2 separate regions of the Homo sapiens genome follow, and region 2 is linked to region 1. Evidence: promoter capture Hi-C in human tissues and cell types (Jung and others, 2019). All regions are on one chromosome and are shown on one strand. Each heading gives the region's core, a stretch centred on a gene start or on the middle of the fragment in contact. The rest is flanking DNA. Distances are from core to core; before and after follow the strand shown.

Region 1 (6,023 bases), core at 2,002-4,501:
CATGTTCAAAGCTACAAAATATTGCTGAGAAACATTAAAGAATACCTAAATTAATGGAGAGATAAATGTTCATAGGTTAGAGGAATCGATATTTTTATGTCAGTTCTCCTTAAATTGATCAATGGATTCAAGGCACTCTCAATTAGAAAAGTGAATTTTTAAAACATTGACAAGCAAATTCTGAAATTTACATGGAAGATGAAAACCAAATAAAAACAAAAACAAAAGCTGAAGAGTTGAACAAATTTTGAAAAAAAATAAAAGCACAGTTGGAAGACTTATTACATCTAAGTTGGAGTCCTATTATAAAGTTATAGCAATCTGAACAGTATGGTTTTGGCATAGGAATAGAAATATAGATCAAATGAAAGGAATAATGAGTGAATCCTGAAATAGACTCACTCATCTATGGCCAATTGATTTTCAATAAAGGTATCCAGTTACTCAATGGGAAAAAAGATAATCTTCTCAACAAATGGTGCCAAAACAACTGGATATCCATGTAGACAATAATGAACCTCAGCCCTTACTTCATACCATACACAAAGGTTAACATCAAATAGATTGTAGACCTAAATATAACAGCTAAAACTATAAACTTCTATAAGAAGCCATAGAAAATCTTCATGACCTTGGGGTAAGCAAAGATTACTTATGTAAAACCTAAAAGTACAACACACACACACAAAAACACGCTTGATAAACTGGACTTTATCAAAATTAAAAACTGCTGTTTGAAAGACACTATTAAGAAATTGAAAGACAAGAAACAGACTGGGAGTGTATATTGGTTATATACATATCTAACAAATGCCTGGTATATAAAGAACTCCTACAACTCAATAATAAGAATCCAAAGACTTGATTAAAAATTGGGCAATAAATTCAGACACTTTATCAAAGAACAGGTGGCATGAGAGCACATGAAAAGCTGGTAAACATCTTTTATGGTCACCATCATTAGTCAGTAAGGAAACGCAAATTAAAACCACGATGTGATACCACTATATACTTACTAGAATGGCAAAAATAAGAAGACAGAAACTACCCAGTGTTGATGAGGATGTGAAGCAATTATCATATCTTGCTGGTGAGAATGTAAAATGTTTTCCACTTTGGAAAGCAGTTCATCTTTCTATATAGTTAAACACACAGTTACTGTAATAATAATTTTACTCCTGTAAGATAAGAAAAATAATAATGTATGTCCACAAAAGGACTTGTTAAAGATTGTTCCTAGCAGCTTTATTCATAATAACCCCATATTGAAAACATCCCCAATGTCCATCATTTGGTAAACTGGCAAACAAATTGTGGTATATCCATACAATGGAATACTACTCAGCAATAAAAAGGAACAAACTTCAGATACAGGCACAACATTAATGAGTTTCAAAAACATTGTGTGGAGTGAAGGAAGTCAGACACAAAGGAATATGTAAGTGATTCCATTCATATGAAATGTTAGAAAAGACAAATCTAATCTGTAGTTACAGAAAACAGCTAAGCGGGCCAAATATGAGGTGGGATAGAAGTTGACTTTAAAGGGGTGCAAGACAACCCTCTGAGGTGATGGAATTGTTCATTATCTTGATTGAAGCAGTGGTTACATGGGTGTGTACATTATTCAAAACTCATGAAGCTGTATAATTAATATGAGTGTAATATATGGAATGTAACTTATCCCCCAATAAAGTTGATTAAAAAATTAAAAGGAAAGTGGGGCAACCAAGTTTCATAAAGCAAAATATCTTTGGGTAATAAGTGGCATGAACTAACAGCCAATTTCCTTAGAAAACAGCCATATGGATTAATCACCTCTAGAATTATTTGTGCCTGTGCTGCCCAGATCAAAGTTCCAACTCCTGGCAGAGAGGGCCTGAGGGGCTTAGCTGAGGTCAGTTGCTCTCTTCTGGACAGGGAAAAGCTGGACCATCCTGACTGACCTTCCACCCAGACTGCTGTCCTTGTGGCAGGGATGGTATCTCAAAGAAAAATGGAGGTACTGTTACCAGAGAAGGGGCAATGATGACTGCTAAACAAACAAATAAACAAACACCAAAACAGTCTTCCCCTGTGTATTTCCAGGGAGAGTAAAGAGGATGGTGAGGGGCTTCAAACATATCTATGTTCATTCATTCCATTCATTTATTCACTCAAACATAATATGGAGTCTGTACTATTTTCCAGGAGCGTTATTGAGTAGGGACTCGAACGCTCTTGAAGTCTCTCTAAAAAGAAAGAGTTCTTATTAATGGGAGGAAGAGAAGCCTGGTAGGAGATGGTTACCTGGAGTGGTTATGGGGCTTAAACCTGTTTTTGTTTTTTTGTGGGGAGAGGGGGATAGAATTCAACGACACAAGAAAGAACTTTGCAGCAGTCAAATTTGTATCTTTTGGGGTCCTGTAAAAGCTGGAAAACTCTTTAGTCTGGAAGAGGAAGATGGACAGTCAGAGAAGCAGATTCCAGAATTCATGTCCTGTCTAACCCACAAATGGAAAAGCCCGTTCATGGTTTTAACATTCCATCACTGGGCCTCCCGGGGCCTCCTCGGCGAGTCGGCAGAGGGAGCCATTCCCCAATAAATTGCCGCGCGAGGCCTCCGAGGACCTGGGGGGATTTTCCTGCGCGTCCGGGGAGTTCTCTCTCCGCCCCTCCATGGTAAAGCAGACTATCCCACCCTCCACCCTCTGCCTTCACCTCCCCGCCCCACCTTTCCATGTACTTTGCTGCCACATCACATTCTCTGGCACGGCTTAATCACCATCCTTTCTGGGTCCCACCTTTGCGCTTTCTCCCCTGACACCACTGAGGACCCGCCGTCCACTCCAGTTGGCCGCTCGGGCGCCGGCCACCGTCCCACAAATCCTTACAGAGGGTCTAGAACACCTCCCAGGGACTCTGCCGAGGGACTTGCACCCAACGTGGGTTGGGAATCAGGCGGGCACCCACTCTGACACCCCTTCGGTCACCCCCTGCGGTGACCCCAACATTTGCTAACTTCGCGACCAGGCCTTTGGCGGGGTCACCCACCAGGCGGTGGAAGCCGCTCAGGCAGGGGCGACTCACGATCGAGGTGCAGCAGTCAGGCCGGGAAGATCCTGCATGTTGCGCTAGGGACTGCGCGCGGCGCCAAGCGACAACCCCCCAGCGGCCACTGCCCCGGCAGCAGCAGCTGCAGCAGCGGCAACTGCTCGAATCCCGGCCCCGGCTCGGGTTACCCGCCCCCACCCCCTCCAGCATCTCGGGCCAGACAGAGAAAACCTTGTTCAAGTTTGCAGCAAGTACTTTCCCGGTGCGCAAAACTGGGCGACTGGGAACGCGTTGAGACGTTCCTCTTTCCCGCTTCTCCACCTTTACGCCTGAAAGAAGACTCCCAAAGATTGCTTTCTTCTGGGACGCTGCTTGGACGCTAACCGCGTTGATTGGAACAGATTTTGTGTCTTGGCTGGCTTTGGGTGAAGACCGGGGAGAAAAGGTTGCGCTGCGATTCTCAAGATCTCTGGACCTGGGTAAGAGTTGGGCAAACTCAACTCCGGCGGCTCCTGGACCTTGGCCGGACGCCGGAAGGCTTCTCATGGGCGGGGGTCACATTTTCCTTAGCCAGGGTACCGGGGTGCGGCGTGAGGTGGGGCGAGATGGGCTCAGTCTGCGTTGTTCATGCGCTTCTTAAGGGTTTATTGTTGTTTGCATTTGGTTTTGTTACATGGGATTGTGTAGGAAAATCCTGGAGTATTTTTGATGGAGAGACATCCTCATTACGCATTTTATTTTGCATAATTCCTGCCCTTGTATTGCCTTACCTTGTGTTTGTTTCATTTTGCCGGGCGATATAGCTGGATGTAGGGAGATTTGTGGGGAATCGGACTGAGCTTGAAAGGCAGTTTCAGCTGGGCCCTTTCTTCTAGGTCAGTTGAACTTCCTTTCTGGGATCTTCACTGTTTTCTAAACTTCTCTTTCTCCCGTCCTTGGTATTCAGATTGTGCAGATAACGCTCTAGGCTGGCGGGATGCTCCCCTTTCCTGAGTTCTCAGCGATCAGTAGGGGTGTGAGGTCGCAGTCTTAGACCAAAGGGGCCTTGTCAGTATGCTTGGCTCCTTAAGGAGTGCTGGGAGGGACGGTTTTTCAAGTGATAGTTACTTAAGAAAGATAAATCCGGTGTTGATCTTTTTCTTTTAAATTCCTTGTTAGAGGACTTTTACGCCTGGTTTAAGGAAGTGTTTTGGCCTTAATTTTCTTTCTGGAAGTATTTTTCTTAGTGACACCACTGAGCAAATGAATGATGGCAATATCTTTGCTGCTTCTTTAGAAAATATCCTCACGCAAGGACCCACATTATTTAGGAGAAAGTCAAAGTTGGAGATCTTATTAGCCAAAATTAGCCATTATTATTGTTCTTAGGCTGTGATAACCATGCTGTGCCAAGGCAGAAGAGAATGACATTTCTTCTTGTTCTTCTTGCCTTACTCCTTTATATCCTGGGTCTCACTTTGTGTATAGGGTTCCCAAATAAAAATGCTTCATTCCTTATGGACAGAAATACTGGGGCCAATTTATATTATCCAGAAATGTCATCTTCCTGACACGAGTGCTCCAAGAGGTCAGCTTGCAGGGAACTTTTAATTTTACCACTGAGAGTTCAAAGAGTTCAGTTGGTAAACTCTGGGCACCCGCCAGCCTGGGTTCAGCTCACAACTCTGCCACTTTTCAGTTCTGTGATTTTGGGGTAAGTTACTTAATCTGTTTATCCACATATGTAAAATCAAAATGATAATAATAGCACTTACATCAGACAATTGTTAAAGGGATTAAGTAAGTTAATGCATGTGAAGGACTAACAAGCCTGACACATAGTAGGCACAAATTAGCTTTATTATTATTGTATAGCTAGCATTAACTATTGTTGTATCCCTCTAGTATAGCTTCTATTAGCTGTCAGTAAGTGTTAGCTATTATTCCTATTTGGATGGACTTTGAAGACTGTGCTCATCTGTAAGCTTCACTACCACCTATTGTCAAACTTAGCTCAGACATGATCTTTGTATTGCTTTTTTGTTGTGGCACTTTCAGTTGGAAAAATAAAGGTGTATATGGCAGAGCTGGAATTTATAGGGTGGTGGGTCATGGATGGGCACCAAAGACTACTTGGAACAGGTGAGGAGGTGGGAAATCTACACTCAGTTCACAGCCTGTATACCTCCTTGGAAATCCTTTACATTAATATACTTTCTTTAACCTATTTTTTAGAGGTCACTCATTTGTTCAGTAAGTATTTATTAACCATCTATTACATGTCAAGCACTGTTTTAGGTTTTATATTTTAAAAATGGCTATGCATGAGTATTGGCTTTATGTGCCTCCTCCCATTTCAAGTGTGTGACCTAGCACTCTATAAATTAAATCCCAAGTATTTTTAGCTACACAATTTCCATACCTGTTAAAATGCTCATAAGAGCACATAAAAAGCACGTATCATTGAGAAATTGAACAAAATATTCCCTATGACCTCAAGCAGATTGCTTTTCTCCATTTAGGCATCAGTTTTATTATGTATAAACTTGTGTTGAGAGGTGGGGAAAGAGTAGAATAACCTCCAGTGTTCCTTCTGGCTCCAAAATCCTTAAATTAGCTGCCTTACTTCATTGGTGGCTGTTTTTGAACCCCCACTTTTCTCTTTTAACATTTGTTTTAGGTACATAAATTACGTTACTTCCATCTTTGCATATTCATCAAAGTGAGTAACAACATCGATAATTAATGAAAAGGGAAAAGCGTTTATCTCTGTCTGTCTTTCACTATTCTCAGACTTTGGTTTATACCAGAAGCATGAAGTGGGGAGATTTGTTAAAATATTAGAGTGAACTATGAGAAATTGCTGATATTTGACCATTTTTGACCTAAATAAATGGCAATTTTGTATGGTTCAAACTATACAAACCCTAATCCCTTCTGCCTTGATTTAGAAGTAGTAAGTCTTCTGTGAGTTGTGAGAAGTCTGCATTTTTACAAGTTCCCCAGGTGAT
Region 2 (6,023 bases), core at 953-3,452, 110 kb before region 1:
ATGTACCTCCAAATGAATTAAAACTTTGGAAACTGCCCAGGGGATGGAACCTCAGGGCCTGAAGAACTGATGGTGATTATCCCAATTTTCCCACCACGGCCAAATCATGTTGAGAGGTGAAGCCACCTGGGCTGCTGGGTCAGGTGGGAACTTGGAGAACTTTTCTGTCTAGCTAAAGGATTGTAAACGCACCAATCAGTGCTCTGTGTCTAGCTAAAGGTTTGTAAATGCACTAATCAGCACTCTGTAAAAACGCACCAATCAGCACTCTGTGTCTAGCTAAAGGTTTGTAAACGCACCAATCAGCACTCTGTAAAAACGCACCAATCAGCACTCTGTAAAATGGACCAATCAGCACTCTGTAAAATGGACCAATCAGCAGGACATGGGCGGCACCAAATAAGGGAATAAAAGCTGGCCACGGGAGCCAGCAGCAGCAAACCGCTCAGGTACCCTTCCATACTGTGGAAGCTTTGTTCTTTTGGTCTTTGCAATAAATCTTGCTGCTGCTCCCTCTTTGGGTCTGCGCTTTGGAACTGTGACACTAACTGTGAAGGTCTGCAGCTTTACTTCTGAAGCCAGCAAGACGACGAACCCACCAGGAGGAATGAACACCTCTGGATGCGCTACCTTTAAGAGCTGCAACACGGTGAAGGTCTGCAGCTTCATTCTTGAGGTTAGCGAGACCACAAACCCAGCAGAAGGAAGAAACTCCGGACACATCTGAGCATCTGAAGGAACAAACTTCGGACACACCATCTTTAAGAACTGTAACACTCATTGCGAGGGTCCGCAGCTTCATTCTTGAAGTCAGTGAGACCAAGAACCCACTGGAAGGAACCGATTCCGGACACAATGTCTCTAGTCCATGTTTCATATTTAAACTCTTTACAAGCAGTCTGCATAGATTTCATTCACGTTCCCTAATGGGAGTAGTACAGCAGTGAATGCCCAGGATACTGGTTGGCACACGCCTGCCTTTCATTCCTCCTTCTTCCTGCAGGGCTTTGGTACTGCACTTGTAGTACCCTCCTGACACCTGTAGCTTAGGTTGCTGGTACCAATCTCTGTGGTGATTGGGCAGGCCGTGATGGTCCACGTGGCAGAACAGAAACAGAAACGCTGTTCCCCTTTGACCTTCTAGTAGCTACCTATGGCTGCCTTCCCCCCAGGCTGAAGCAATTCTCTCTTTTCCCTCCCCCAACATATAACAATCCTGAGTCTTCAGACTCCCCTGGGGCCTTATCACAGTGTTTTATTTTATTTTATGGTTTGTCATTAGTTTCTCAAATATGTTTCCCTCTGGCTTCTATAGTTTCTCTAGGGTTGATTTTCAGAAGCAGCCAGTGGCCAATGTAGTTTTTCATCTTGACAGGATGAGAGAATGGTTTATAGAATGAGCAGGTGTATCATAGAAAGGAAAGAAACAGACAGGAGATGGATGAGTCTTAGGGAGGGAAAGGCTATGAAGGTACAGCAAGAGATGCTGTTCTCTACATTTACTTTTTATTTTAGTGTATGTGTGTGTGTGCATGCACACGTGTACATATACGTTAAAAGTCAAACAATACTGTCAGGCTTATAATAAAAATTAACAATCCTAACCCTTCTCTACTCCACAATCCTGCTCCCTTAAGGCAAAAATTTTCAACTTTTATTTTTGCTTTTTTTTTTCTGGTATTTGCTTCCACATTCTAAATAAATGCCTATATCATTATTTCTTGATTTTAAAATGTTAGCTATTTTCTTTGGCTTCCTTGCATGGAGAATGAGAAGCTAGCTCAGGTGATCACTGTGTTGGCCTTCCTACAGATTCTCTTCCCTTCCTTACTTCATTTCTTCAATTCCAATATAGTTGAACAATATATGTTCTTCATTCTTCCAGTATAGTTCCAATATAGTTGTTTTCATTATCAGCACTCCATGTTTATACCATTGTGTCCATGTGAATACAGTTCACACCTTAGACATGTAGCACACTAAGATTATATTCCTTTTCTTATATAACATTTTATTTTCTTAGGATTAATACTTGTTTTCCCCCAGCTACCCAAGTTGTTCAGTGAATCACGTGCCTATCTTAATTCTCTGACAGTTGTAGGATACTTTCAATAGAGTTGAACACATCAGGCAATCTCTCCGATTCCTCCTCAACCTCCGTGCGGGCTCTAACTTCCTGCTCTATGCTGGATTCTGTTCACACCTTCCCTTCATTAGGATCTTGGGAATTTCCTTTGCCTGCCTTCTTATGTTAGATTTCCAGTTTCCTAATTTTGTATCTACCTCTTTCTTGATTCATTCTCATGTTTGGTGAAGAAACTAGTATCTTCTAATAGCGTCCTAAGAGAGTCTGTAAGAGGTAAAATGTATGTCTATACATAGTGGTCAGTTGTTATTCAGGCTGGCTCCAGTTTCCGAACATTGTTTTAGCAGTTTCCCACGTTATAAATTCTGCATTCCTAACGAAGATTTTTCAGGTCATTTTCCAGTTGTGAGATTGCAGACATGTGGTTTTGATTCCACCAGTCAACTGCATCTGTGCCAGATTCAAAATCTGGGTCCAGAACTGAATTATTTGGGAAAAAGCCAGGGTCTGAGGTTGTTACTTTGCTGGTGCAGCTCTGGGCCCGGCAGTACAGCAGGACTCTGGAGTCTAAATGTGCAACCATAGCACCTGATTTGTCAACTTCCTGGTGATGGCAGAGGCCATAGGTTGGAACTGGCACTGGTGGCAGTAGCCTCCTGGTTTCATGGCTTGTGTGAGCAGCGTTGTGCTGTGGAGCTGGGTGTCACAACTGGAAGCACAATCCGTTTCCTTCCCTCAGTCTTGAGCTCTCACTACGTCATAACTAGTCCTTTTGGCTTAAACTGGCTACAGTAATTTCTGCCTTGCTAAACTAACTTGGCCAATATATCCCTTGTATGCCTAAAGATGTCCTTGTCCTTCTGTAAGACGTAAGTTTGGTCAGGTATAGAATTCTAATTTCGAAACCATTTTCTTCAAAAATTAGAAAGCATTTCTCCAGTGTCTCTGGTTTCTAGCGTTGTTGCTGAGAAGTCCAAAGCCATTCCGTTTTGAGACCATGTATATGATTTGCTTCTCTCTAAAGCTTTTCTGTTTTATCTCAAAGTAGTATTTATTCTTAATTTTTCTGTTTTTATATAATCATATTTTATTTACTTATCATTATTAGTTTTTACAGACAGGGCTTCACTCTGTTGCCCAGGCTGGAGTGCAGTAGCACAATCATACATAGCTCACTGCAGCCTCAGATTCCTGTATGCAAGAGATCCTCCCACTTCAGCCTCCTGAGTAGCTGGGACTCTGTGCCCAGCTAATTTTTAAAATTGTTGAAAGAGATGGAGTCTCGCTTTGTTCTCCAGGCTGGTCTTGAACTCCTAGCTTCAAGTGATCCTCCTGCCTTGGCCTCCCAAAGTGCTGGGATGACAAGTGTAAACCACTGTGCCTGGCAAAAGGTCATATTTTAAAGAGACAAAGAGTTCTGTTGTCTTATGAAAAGCAGCCTTTGTTTCCTCACTTCACCCCTCCCCATTTCCTTATTATCAGAAATGACCACTTTCACCACAATGTATATTAACAACATAATTAAATATATTTTTGTGCATATGAATTGATGCCAGTAAATCTTTCAATGTTATCATATTTGACTGTTATACACATTTTCAAGAAAACATTATATATGAAAGCAGATGACTGCCTTGTATCTAAACAGACTTTGGGGTGTAGGAGTTATAGATCCTCAAGTAGCAGTTGTTAGTGGGTTTTCCTCCTCTGAAGAGTATTTCACTCATTAGGTGGTAGGATGTGACCCTAGGCTTGGGCCTAAAAATAGAAAGAAGGAGGTGTGGTGGCGCATGCCTGTAATCCCTGCTACTTGCGAGGGTGAGGTGGGAGAATCGCTTGAACCCGGGAGGCAGAGGTCACAGTGAGCCGAGATCGTGCCACTGCACTCCAGCCTGGGCAACAGAGGGAGACTCTGTCAAAAAAAGAAAAAAAGAAAAAGAAAAAGAAAAAAGAGAAAGAAGGGGTGGGCAGGTAATTTTGGGACCATGAGGTTTCTGACACCAACATTCCAGGATTTCAGGGTGGGCCTCCTGATCTGGGGAAAAGGCTGTGGAGTGAATCTAAAGAGCTACAACTAGAAGCCCAGTAAGGTTGATGTGGAACTTCTTGGCTGAGCCCACCATTAAGGGATTGGAATTCTAAGGCATGGAACCTGGAAAAACCACTGTAGCCCGGGCAGGGTGTGAATGGGTGGATGCCTCGCCTCACCTGATCACTTAGGACCATATCTAAGCACCAGGAGAAACAGCAGGATCGGTGCAGAATAAGTCACTTCCAAGCTGCTTAGGCTTCAGATGCCTTTAGTGTGACTGTGCATCGTAAATCAATCAGCTTTTGTAATGCTTGCTAAAATCTCCAACGTTAAGGGAGAACCTTTGGCTCCAAAGTAGCAAAATAGTGAGATAGGAATTAGCAGGACTCCCTTCTCAGGCTACTTAGCATCCCGGAAGTATTAGATGTATGAAAGGTGTAAGGGGTCTAACAGATACACTGATTTCCTGTTAATATGGACACTGGGGGCTGGAACACTGCATTAGGGACCCTCCTGGAATGAGGTTGGCTGTTATTCAAGATACAGCCTGTGAAATAAGATGTACTGGTTACACATATTTTACTGATATTCTCTCTCAATTTCTCTTGACACTAGCAACTCTGGTTACCTGTAATTTAATATTTTTTTCGAGCAGCTGAAGATGACAGGATGGGGGAGAGAAAGGAGTGCAAACAGGGAAGCCTAGATCTGACATGATTTTTCTGTGTCCAAAGCACCCCCCCTCAAGTTGCCCCTGTTGAACCCAAGCTAGTTTCTACAACTCACAAAGATACACTTTAATCCAATTTCTATATTTCTTCCATGCAAAATTATACTTTTGATCAAAGATAGGAAAGAAGAGCCTAATAGCTTAAAGCCGAACATAAAGAACTCTGACCTTAGCTTCTCTGAATAGCAACCAATAAATATAATGACAACAACAACAAACAAAAACAAGAAAACCCAAATCATAAAACAAAAAAAACCCCCCATACAAACAGAAACACTTGATGCATCATTAGATCCACACACTAGGGTGAGCAACACAGTTTCAAAAAACAATGATAAGTCTGATAGGAAAGGTGGAGCAGGACGGGCTGCTGGAGCTTTTCTGGAAATGAAAAGAAGCAAATGGCCCAAGCCAGTGTCCCCATATCTGTGCCTCTTGCTAAATGGCCTGTCTGCTCCATGACAGCTGTTTTCAAGGTCCTGGAAATTGGTTCCCTAGCTTAATCCAAGGTGAATTGGACTCATGGAATCATTCAGTCACACTCAATTCCGCCATAGTCATATTTGCACAGATGTTGTGTCAGCTGTCCTGATTCCTTGGGCGATGTGGGGCTGGAGCTACGACTGTGACTAATGAAAGACACATTTGTCCTTTGTAGTGAAAGAGAAAGGGCACTACGGAACAATTCCATGTATTAAATAGAAGGTGTAGGTTGGAAATGAACACACTGATTCCAATAAGATATGGGAGATTATTTAAATTTGATAGCAAGTGGTTATAACTTGAAGAAATTTGAATACAAGAGGTTCTAGTGGAGCATTTTTCACTAAAAAAAGAAAATCTCTAAAATAAGCAAAAGTAATCAGAATGTATCAACTCAAGAGAGAACAAGATATGGCACTTGGAAAGGAAAGGTAATAACTGCAATAATAATGTTCAGGCTCTGTTATTTTTTGAGGCTGGTTCAATAAAATGTAATGTAACATTAACAATTTCTTGGGAAAAAAAACCAATCAACTGCTCTTCTCTTTTTATCTATGGCTCTATATTCTGCATGAATACAAATGCCCTTGTACTCGGGCATTTGTGAGGAATTCTGGGATGTTAAGTAACAATGAAAGTGAAATTTGTAATATTTTACTTAAGAATAAATGCTAATTAAAGCTTTATTTATA

Evidence for each region. Contacts are between HindIII fragments. The study calls those that stand out against the background at their distance.
Region 2: a fragment that was not itself captured here is called in contact with the fragment with the promoter of MEGF10 in region 1 in 3 of the 25 tissues and cell types used here (H1 embryonic stem cells, aorta and pancreas).

What each region holds. Positions count from the first base shown.
Region 1 is chr5:127,287,545-127,293,567 of GRCh38, forward strand. It overlaps MEGF10 (multiple EGF like domains 10), which reads left to right and starts at 3,252. Exons shown (of 25, transcript NM_001256545.2): 1 at 3,252-3,512. It overlaps LOC105379199, which reads right to left and starts at 3,192. Exons shown (of 4, transcript XR_007058921.1): 1 at 3,034-3,192. The HindIII fragment of the contact is 12,500 bases long and covers 1-6,023 here.
Region 2 is chr5:127,182,495-127,188,517 of GRCh38, forward strand. No RefSeq gene overlaps it. Among named protein-coding and RNA genes, the nearest start is that of MEGF10, 110 kb to the right of the region's middle. The HindIII fragment of the contact is 4,718 bases long and covers 1-4,561 here.